2 separate regions of the Homo sapiens genome follow, and region 1 is linked to region 2. Evidence: promoter capture Hi-C in 16 types of primary human blood cells and fetal thymus (Javierre and others, 2016). All regions are on one chromosome and are shown on one strand. The core of a region is centred on a gene start or on the middle of the fragment in contact, and the rest is flanking DNA. Distances in the headings are between cores, read along the strand shown.

Region 1 (4,412 bases), core at 1,385-3,884, 410 kb after region 2:
AAAAAGTCTACTGTTATTGTTTTATCACATACCTATCCATCCATCAATCCATCTTGATTTTTACTCTACTTTTAAAATGCCTTTTAAAGTAGTATCTAAATGCAGTTTCTGAAGCAAGGGGTCAGAAACTCCCGCACCTATGAGAAAGGAAAATGATATACAATCATGCGTGGCATGTGTCCCTCAATGATAGACCACAAATACCACAACCGTCCCATATTATAATACCATATTATTTTTGAGACAAGAGTCTCATTCTGTCGCTCAGGCTGGAGGGCAGTGGTGCAATCTGGGCTCACTGCTGGAGGAATCACATTACCTGACTTCAAACTATACTACAAGGCTATAGTTACCAAAACAGCATGGTACTGGTGTAACCTTCCAGGTTCAAGCAATTCTCCTGTCTCAGCCTCCCAAGTAGCTGTGACTACAGGTGCATGCCACCACACTTGGCTAATTTTTGTATTTTTAGTAGAGACAGGGTTTCACTATATTGGTCAGGCTGGTCTCGAGCTCCTGACCTTAGGTGAGCCACCCGCCTCCGCCTCCCAAAGTACTGGGATTACAGGCATGAGCCACCGTGCGCAACCCTGTAATACCATATTTTTACTGCACCTTTTCTAGGTTTAGATATGCTTAGATATACATATACTTTCCACTGCATTACAAAAGCCTACAGCATTCAGTACAGTAACATGCTGTACAGATACGTGGCCTAGGAGCAACAGGCTATACCATATAACCTAGATGTAGAGTAGGCCATACCATCAAGTTTTGTCTAAGTACACTTTATGATGTTCATACAATGACACAATCGCCTAACGACGCATTTCTCAGAACATATCCCCGTTGCAATCTCTGAGGTTGTTACAGCATCAGTCATGTAGTTCCGTATTCATGGTGACTGAAAATTTATTCAATTTTTATGACTTGTTACATTTAGTTGTGAGGTGGAGCAAAGCAGCTAAGTGCTAACTCTAAACAGCCTTGAATTTGAAACCTGGGTCGGCCACTTATTGTGATACTCTAGGCAAGTCATTTAATGCTTTTAGATACCAGTTTCCTTACTGCAAAATAAGATACTAGTAGCAATGTCAAAGTGTTAATGTGAGATTTAAATAAGATAATGTATAAAATGTTTAGCACAGCTGGCATACAGAAAGGGCATAACAAATGTTAGCATTATTATCAACACTGTATTAGTTCATTCAGCCTACACAACAGGTTCTAGCTGCTACATGGCTACACATACCCATGCAACTGTTTATAGTATTCTTCTTCATCACCTTATATGTTCTAAGAACCTTGGGTAGTGTATGTATTTTACTGAGATTAAAGACAGAATGAGGGTGAATGGGTCCAAGTGCAAGCATTCTCCATCTTCCCACTCCACTCCCTAATGGAACTAGATGTTCACTCTGTTATTGAAAGCAGTGATTGTGGAGTCCTAGTAAGGGAAAAGGAGTCAGGCGGGTGGGAAAAGGGTACAGCAAAAAGAAAAAGCAGATAAGGTATAAGTCTGCCTTTCTTCATGGTCCAAGACACACAGCCCTCTTGCACAAATAACTCACAAGCTTTCTGCACTCAACTTATCACCAGACTCTCAGCTGACAGAAAAATGCAAGTTAGCTCACTGCAACCTTGGCCTTATCAGTACTGCACATAGCCCTCTCTGCAGCACACAGCAGAAGCATCATCCTGTAACATGCCCAGCAAGCCATTGTCTCCTGGCAGTCAGCTTCTCTCTTGCTGATCTGCCCGTTGCACCCTTGCAACCAACCTACTTTCATACTTTCTCTAATAAATCTGCCCTTCTTTACCTACAATTGCCTTGGTAATTCCTTTACCACCTGCAACGCCAGCCTCAGCTAGTGTGACCTATGACAGTGAGGATGAACACAGGAAAACACACTACAGGCACAGTTTTGCTTTTCAGCACTTGGTTGACAGGAGGCTGATAAACTGCCTAATTGTGCTCTGCTTACTTTAGATGAACACTGCTCCCTCTTAAAACTTCATTTGAGATCACATAATTATGAATTTATATCAAATTTGGTCCAACCCAAACAAAATGTGTTATCTCCACTGATCACATATCCAAATGCCTTTTTATCTGTACATAGCATATTTATGCCAGTTTTGTTGTAGATGGAGTCACCTGGGCGCAGTGGCTCACGTCTGTAATTCCAGCACTTTAGGAGGCCAGGATTACACTTCAGGAGGCCGAGGCAGGTGAATCACTTGAGGTCAGGAGCTCGAGACCAGCCTGGACAACATGGTGAAACCCCATCTCTACTAATACAAAAATTAGCTGGGCGTGGTGGTACATGCCTGTAATCCCAGCTACTAGGGAGGCTGAGGCAGGAGAATCGCTTGAACCCAGGGGGCAGAGGTGGATTGCAGTGAGCTGAGATCGAGCCACTGCATTCCAGCCTGGGCAACAGAGGGCGACTGCATCTCAAAAAAAAAAAAAAAAAGTTAAAAAAGTAGATGGAGTCATAAAACCTCTACCAACTACCTGCCTCTTTAAAGACATGATTTAAGTAAAAGCTACAGTTCTATTTTTATGGAATTTTTATTTAAAAATATGGTATCTAGGCCTACGGCTACAGGCTTACATGTGTAATCTTAGCACTTTGGGAGGCCAAGGCAGCAGGATCACTTGAGCTCAGGAGTTTGAGAGATCAGCCTGGACAACATAATGAGAATCTATCACTATTTTAAATCACTATTTAAGAAAAAGAGCTGGGCGCAGTGGTGTGTGCCTGTAGTCCCAGCTACTCAAGAGGCTGAGGCAGGAAGATCCCTTGAGCCCAGAAGTTCTGGACTGTAGTATCCTATGCCGATTGGGTGTCTGCACTAAATTAGGCATCAACATGGTGACCTCCAGGGAGTGAGGGACCACCAGGTTGCCTAATGAGAGAAGTGGCCCAGGTCAGAAACAGAGCAGGTCAAAACTCCCGTGCTTATCAGTAGTAGGATCACATCTGTGAATAGCCACTGCACTCCAGCCTGAGCAACACAGTAAATCCCCCGTCTTTAAAAAAAAAAAAAAGTAAGCATGGAATCCACTTCTCTGCTAACTTCTAAAAACTAGTCTTAGTTCTCTTTGCCAGAGGAAGCAGAATCTAATTTTAAAATTTAAAAGTACTTCTATGTGGCTTCACATAACATAATTTGTCTATTGCTAATTCTTCTGAGCTTGATGTGAGAATGTAGTAGATACTAAAAGGAGTATGGTAAAGGTAAACAATACTTCATCTTTAAAAACTAATTTTAATGAGGTTTATCCAAATATAGTTTTTTTTTGTTTTGTTTTGCTTTTGAGATGGAGTCCCGCTTTGTCACCCAGGCTGCAGTGCAATGGCGCAATCTTGGCTCACTGCAACCTCCCCGGTTCAAGCAATTCTCCTGCCTCAGCTTCCCAAGTAGCTGAGACTACAGGCATGTGCCACCATGCCCGGCTAATCCAAGTATAGTTTTAAAACATTATTTTGACTTCTACACTATGTACATACTTTACATATTCAAAAATAAAATCCTAAGTAAAAACTGAAACCTATGAACCATATCAAATTGGTAGCATAACCAGAGAAAAGTATTTCAAGTGACTTTTGAACACAGTACTCATTATACATTCTTCATGCAATATAGTCTAAATACGAAAATAAATGCAAAGAAATCTTAAACTACATGAAGCTTATTGGTATTAGCAATACCAGCACTATAATTTTAAAATGATTTTATGTATACAGTGGGAGAAAGCAAATAAGTTTATTATTTTTTTTGGAGACAGGGTCTCACTCTGTCATCCAGGCTGAAGTGCAGTGGGGTATGAACATGGCTCACTGCAGCCTCAACCTCCTGGGCTCAAGTGATCCACCTGCTTCAGCCTCCTGAGCAGCTGGGAACACAGGCACACACCACCACGCCTGGCTAATTTTTTTATTTTTTATAGAGATGGGGTCTCATCATGTTGCCCAGGCTGGCCTTGAACTCCTGGGCTCAAGCAATCCTTCCACCTCGGCCTTTCAACGTCCTGGGATTACAGGCATGAGCCACTGTGCTTGGCCAGTTTATTAACTGTATTAAAAACCAAGATTTTCATTTAAGACAAGAGACAAATATAGAGTCAAGGAAGAAAAAGTCTGCTTGTTAAATAGGAATTGGAATATCACTCTGAACTCATGATTAAACAAGCAAAAACCTTTTTCTTAGTTCTCTCCTCTCAAAGCACCTAGAAGCAATGATACTGCAGCAGCAACGAATATGCCAAACATCCAGAACTTGGTTTCTATATACGATTTCTCATTAAAAAGAACCAAGACTCCCTGGATAAACAGCTCTTTCCAGAGGTGAGCAAAGAAAGTATAAGATAAACCCTGGAGTAACTCGTGTCAGAAAGCACTCCA
Region 2 (4,697 bases), core at 1-2,500:
TTCCACAAACACCACATTCCACAAATCTTACCACGCCAGGTGTCAATTTCCTTATTTGAGGAAGGGAAGCTGGACCAGGTCCTCCCTCCCGTTATTTCCAATTCTGGAATCCTGCAATGAATAATCTCTAGATGAGTGACAGTGTGAATTACGTAATACAGGTACTTTTCTTTTCCAAAATTCTCCAATGATAAAGAACAGTTCTAGAATAACTATATGTAAAATGAAGCATGTTCCACTAAATTATTTCAAGCTCCCTTGAAGAGATTTCAGATCCATGTAAAGATATAGCAGAAACTTAAGCGTTGAGTCAAGTCACGTGGGTGGTCCCCAAGCAACTGTGCCCCCTCATCACCCTTCAGCACATGGTGAAATGACATCCTCATCATGCCTATGCCTAAATAAGTGAAGCGGGTGAGACAGCACATAGCATGTGAGTTTAACAAAACTTCAAAATAGCACCAAAAAAAAATTGCAGAAGCAACCTGATGCTCAGAATAAAACCTTCTTAACAGAACTGGCATAGAACAGACTATCAACTGCAAAGTCAGTGTCCTACCTGCCTCTTAGGAGGTCTCTATACAACTTGCTCACAAGTTTCTTCAGTGACGGTGCGTGTCTAGCTAAAGTTAATCTAGTCCACTGACAACCTTTGCACTGCCACTATTCTGAACAGAATCTCAAAATACCAAAACCAGGCAGCTGCCAGGGAGTTGGACCCCGGAAGCCAAGGATTTCCAGATCTTCGGGCGTTCTGAACCTCTTCACTAGACCACGAAGGCCTCTCGGCCTCTCATCACTGGCTTTCAGCACCTGGTCTAACTTTCCCCGCTGGACCCTCCCCAACGCAGAAGCTAAACCCTCGGGTCCTTCCAGAGCAACCGCCGGCTCCAAAGCCCTCAACTCTGCAGCAAATTCCCCTCCGGTGCCAGCCCGGCTGGCCCAAGGCCCGGGTCCAATCCTCAGAACTGCACGGCTCGGCCCCGCCCCTCCCCCACGCCGTGCCTAACCCTAACCCCCAGCCTCACGCGTCGCACCGCTCCCCACGCCCCGCTCCCGCTCCCCACGCCCACACGGGCAGCGACCTCGCGGACCCAGCCGCCCGCTCCCGCTCCCTCCACTCCCAGGAGACACTTCAACCCTTTCGCCGCCCCTTGCCCGCCCTCACCTGAACCGCGGGCGCCGGCCCCCTAACCCGCAGCCCTTCTCCGGCCGCGGGCTCCCAGACGCACTCGCTCCCGCAAGGAGTCTGGGTGCGCGCACGCTCTGGGCCTGCGCGGCGGAAGGGGCGGGGCAGCGCGGGGCGGGGCCTGGAGGGTGCCGGGGCGGGGCCACAGCGGGCGGGTCCTGGAGCGGCTCGGGAGAGCGGAGGGTCGGCGAGGGTGCCTGCGCGCGGCTGGGCCTGGGGATGCAGGTTCCAGCCTGCTTGCGCGTCTCACCTGATTTAGGAGCTTCCAGAGGCCCCAGACAGTGCCTGTCTTTGCCTGACCGCGAATCAAAGTTCCATAGCCCGTGAGCGAAGGCACGTCTATTAGCTGACGTTTGCAGAGAGCATACCCTGCCCCAGGCCCTATGCTAAGCACTTTCTACCCACCGTCTTTGTGCTGCAGCCCTGTGAGCTATGCACTATTAGTGCCCATTTTACAGTTGAGGACATGAGTAGAACGCGACCTCAGCCTGTGCTTCCGAGTTCCTTCATTCCTCCTTCCCGTCCCCGGGCCCTCGATGTCCAGAAAGAATGTAAACACATCGAAGGATCACATTTTAAAGTTAAACTCCATCATTTTCCTCTTCTTAGATATGAAGGCCCCTTTCCTGTTATTCACTGGGTTTTGCTTAGTACGGCTTCACACTACTTATTCCAGGTACTCCCAGCAGTGGCGCAGAGACCATCCTCAGTTCTGTGTGTGGATGGGACCAGAGAAGCCGGCCGGCCGAGCTAATGTTCTTCCCTTCCTGGAAGAGAGTAGTTTCCAAACAACCCGATCTCTGTTCCTCTACTGGCTCCACATATGCTCTAAGTTCCTGTTACACTGTTGAGAGGCTCTTGAATTAGAAACTATCGAGTATAAATGGCAGTGGAATATCACTCTATAGTTGTCACCGATATTTCCCTTACCTTGAGATTGTGACAAGACCAGAAAGAGAAAAAGAGTAAAAACAATGTAAACTATAATTTTTGATAGACTTTGTTTTTTTAAAGTGGTTTAAAGTTAACAAAATTGAGCAGAAAGATATTTTCCAAATACTCCCCGCCCCACCTCCCCACATGCATCGCCTTCCCTTTATCAACATCCTCTACCAGAGTGGTACATTTCTTAGAACTGATGAACCCGGCCCGGCCTGGTGGCTCACGCCTGTAATCCCAACACTTTGGGAGGCCGAGGCGGGCGGATCCCGAGATCAGGAGATCGAGACCATCCTGGCCAACATGGTGAAACCGCGTCTCTACTAAAAATACAAAAATTCGCCGGTCGTGGTGGCGGGCACCTGTAGTCCCAGCTACTCGGGAGCTGAGGCAGGAGAATTGCTTGAACCGGGGAGGCGGAGGTTGCAGTGAGCCGAGATTGAGCCATTGCACTCCAGCCTGTCGACAGAGCGAGACAGAGCGAGACTCCATCTCAAACAAAAGAACTGATGAACCTACATTGATACATCATTACCCACCATCACAGTATAATGCAGAGTAATTTCACTGTCTTAAAAATCATCTGTGCTCTGCATATTCATCTCTCCCTCTCCTCTACCCCTGGCAACCGCTGATCTTTTTGTCTCCATAGTTTTGCCTTTTTCCAGAGTGTCATCTAGTTGGAATTACATAGTATGTAGCCGTTTCAGATTGGCTTCCTTCCCGTAGTAACAGGCATTGAAGTTTCCTCCATGTCTTTTCATGGCTTGATAGCTCCTATTTCTTTTTAGTGCTGAATAATATTCCATTGTGTCGATATATCACAGTTTTATCTATTCGCTTACTGAAAGATATCTTCATTGTTTCCAGGTTTTGGCAATTATGAATCAAGCAATTATGAATCAAACAACCCAGAAATCCAACCACCCACTCCAGGCATCTTTGCATGAACGTATCAAAAACACCTCAGTCCCAATGCCCAGGATCTTCCCCTTTGAGAGGCTGAGATGGGTGGATCACTTGAGCCCAGGAATTGGAGACCAGCCTGGGCAATATGGTGAAACCCCATCTCTACTAAAATAAATACAAAAAATTAGCCAGGTGTGGTGGCACGTGCCTGTAGTCCCAGCTACTCAGGAGACTGAGGTGGGAGAATCGCTTGAGCCAGGGAGATCGAAGCTGCCGTGAGCTGTGATTGCACCACTGCACTCCAGCCTGGGCAACAGAGTGAAACCCTGTCTCAAAAAAGTAAAAAGAAAAATAAAACAACAAAGAATAAGTAAGACTTTTCCTTTACCTTCATTATTAAAGGTAATAATGATGTTCTTTCTTTATATAGATCTGAGGTTCTGACTTTTATCATTTTTCTTCTCTCTGAAAAACTTAACATTCTCTCCAAGGCAGGTCTACTGGCAACAAATCCCCTTTGCTTTTGGGGGATAATTTCATGGGCTACAGCATTCTAGGTTAGACACTGCTTTTTTCTCTCAACACCTTAAACATTTCATTCCACTCGCTCCTTGTGTGCACAGTTTCTGAAGAAAAGTCATTTTTTGTTCATTTGTTTTTTGGTTTTGAAGGATTTTTTTGCATTTATCCTGTGTGTCCTCTGAGCTTCCCGGATCTGTGGTTTCATCTTCCATATTGATTTGGGGAAATAATCAATCATTATTGCTTCAAATATTTCTTCTGTTCCTTTCTCTGTCTTCTGCTAGTATTCCCATGAGGCATAGTTATACCTTTTTTTCATCATCTCACAGTTTTTGGATATTGTTTGTCTTTCAGTTATAGAGGTTTCTATTGAGATATCCTTAAGCTCAGCAATTCTTTCCTAAGATGTGTCTAGTCTACCATTTAGCCTCTCACAGCTACTCTTCATGTTTTTTTTTTTTTTTTTTTTTTTTTTGAGGTGGAGTCTTGCACTGTGACCCAGGCTGGAGTGCAGAGGCGCAATCTCAGCTCTCTGCAACCTCCACCACCCAGGTTCAAGCGATTCTCCCACTTCAGCCTCCTGAGTAGCTGGGATTACAGGCACCCACCACCACGCCTGGCTAATTTTTGTATTTTTAGTAGAAGCAGGGTTACACCGTGTTGGCCAGGCTGGTCTTGAACTCCTGACCTCAAATGATCCACCCACTTCAGCCTCCCAAAGTGCTGGGTTTACAGGCATGAGCTGCCGTGCCCAGCCTACTCTTCATTTTTTATCTCTAGCATTTTAGCTCATTCTTAGGATTTCCATCTCTCTCCTTACATTGTTTGTTATTGCTTGTTGTCTACTTTCTCTAGTAGAGCCCTTTTCATATTAATCACAGTTGTTTCAAATTCCCAGTCTGTGAATTCCAACATCTCGGCCATATCTAATTCTGGGTCTGATGTTTGCTCTCTTTCTTCAAACTTGTGTCTTTTGCCTCTTAGTATGCCTTGTAATGTTTTTCTTGATAGCTGGTCATGATGTGCCAGGTAGAGAGAGCTTCTGTAAGTAGGCCTTTAGCAATGTGGTGGTAAGGTGTTGGGGTTGGGGAAGCATTCTGTATTCCTAAAGGAGGCCTCAGTCTTCTGGTGAGCCTGT

What was found. The method cuts DNA at HindIII sites, captures the fragments that hold promoters and counts their contacts. A CHiCAGO score of 5 or more calls a contact.
Region 1: a contact is called between a fragment that was not itself captured here and the fragment with the promoter of NFRKB in region 2, in 3 of 17 cell types (total B cells, activated CD4 T cells and M0 macrophages). The highest score is 6.2, in total B cells.

What each region holds. Positions count from the first base shown.
Region 1 is chr11:130,307,436-130,311,847 of GRCh38, forward strand. The region is part of intron 1 of ZBTB44 (zinc finger and BTB domain containing 44); the gene reads right to left. It also overlaps the pseudogene RN7SL778P. Among named protein-coding and RNA genes, the nearest start is that of ZBTB44, 5.3 kb to the right of the region's middle. The HindIII fragment of the contact is 2,125 bases long and covers 1,573-3,697 here.
Region 2 is chr11:129,894,328-129,899,024 of GRCh38, forward strand. NFRKB (nuclear factor related to kappaB binding protein) reads right to left here and starts at 1,251. Exons shown (of 27, transcript NM_001143835.2): 1 at 1,169-1,251; 2 at 32-111. RefSeq lists a silencer at 968-1,407. The HindIII fragment of the contact is 7,376 bases long and covers 1-4,697 here.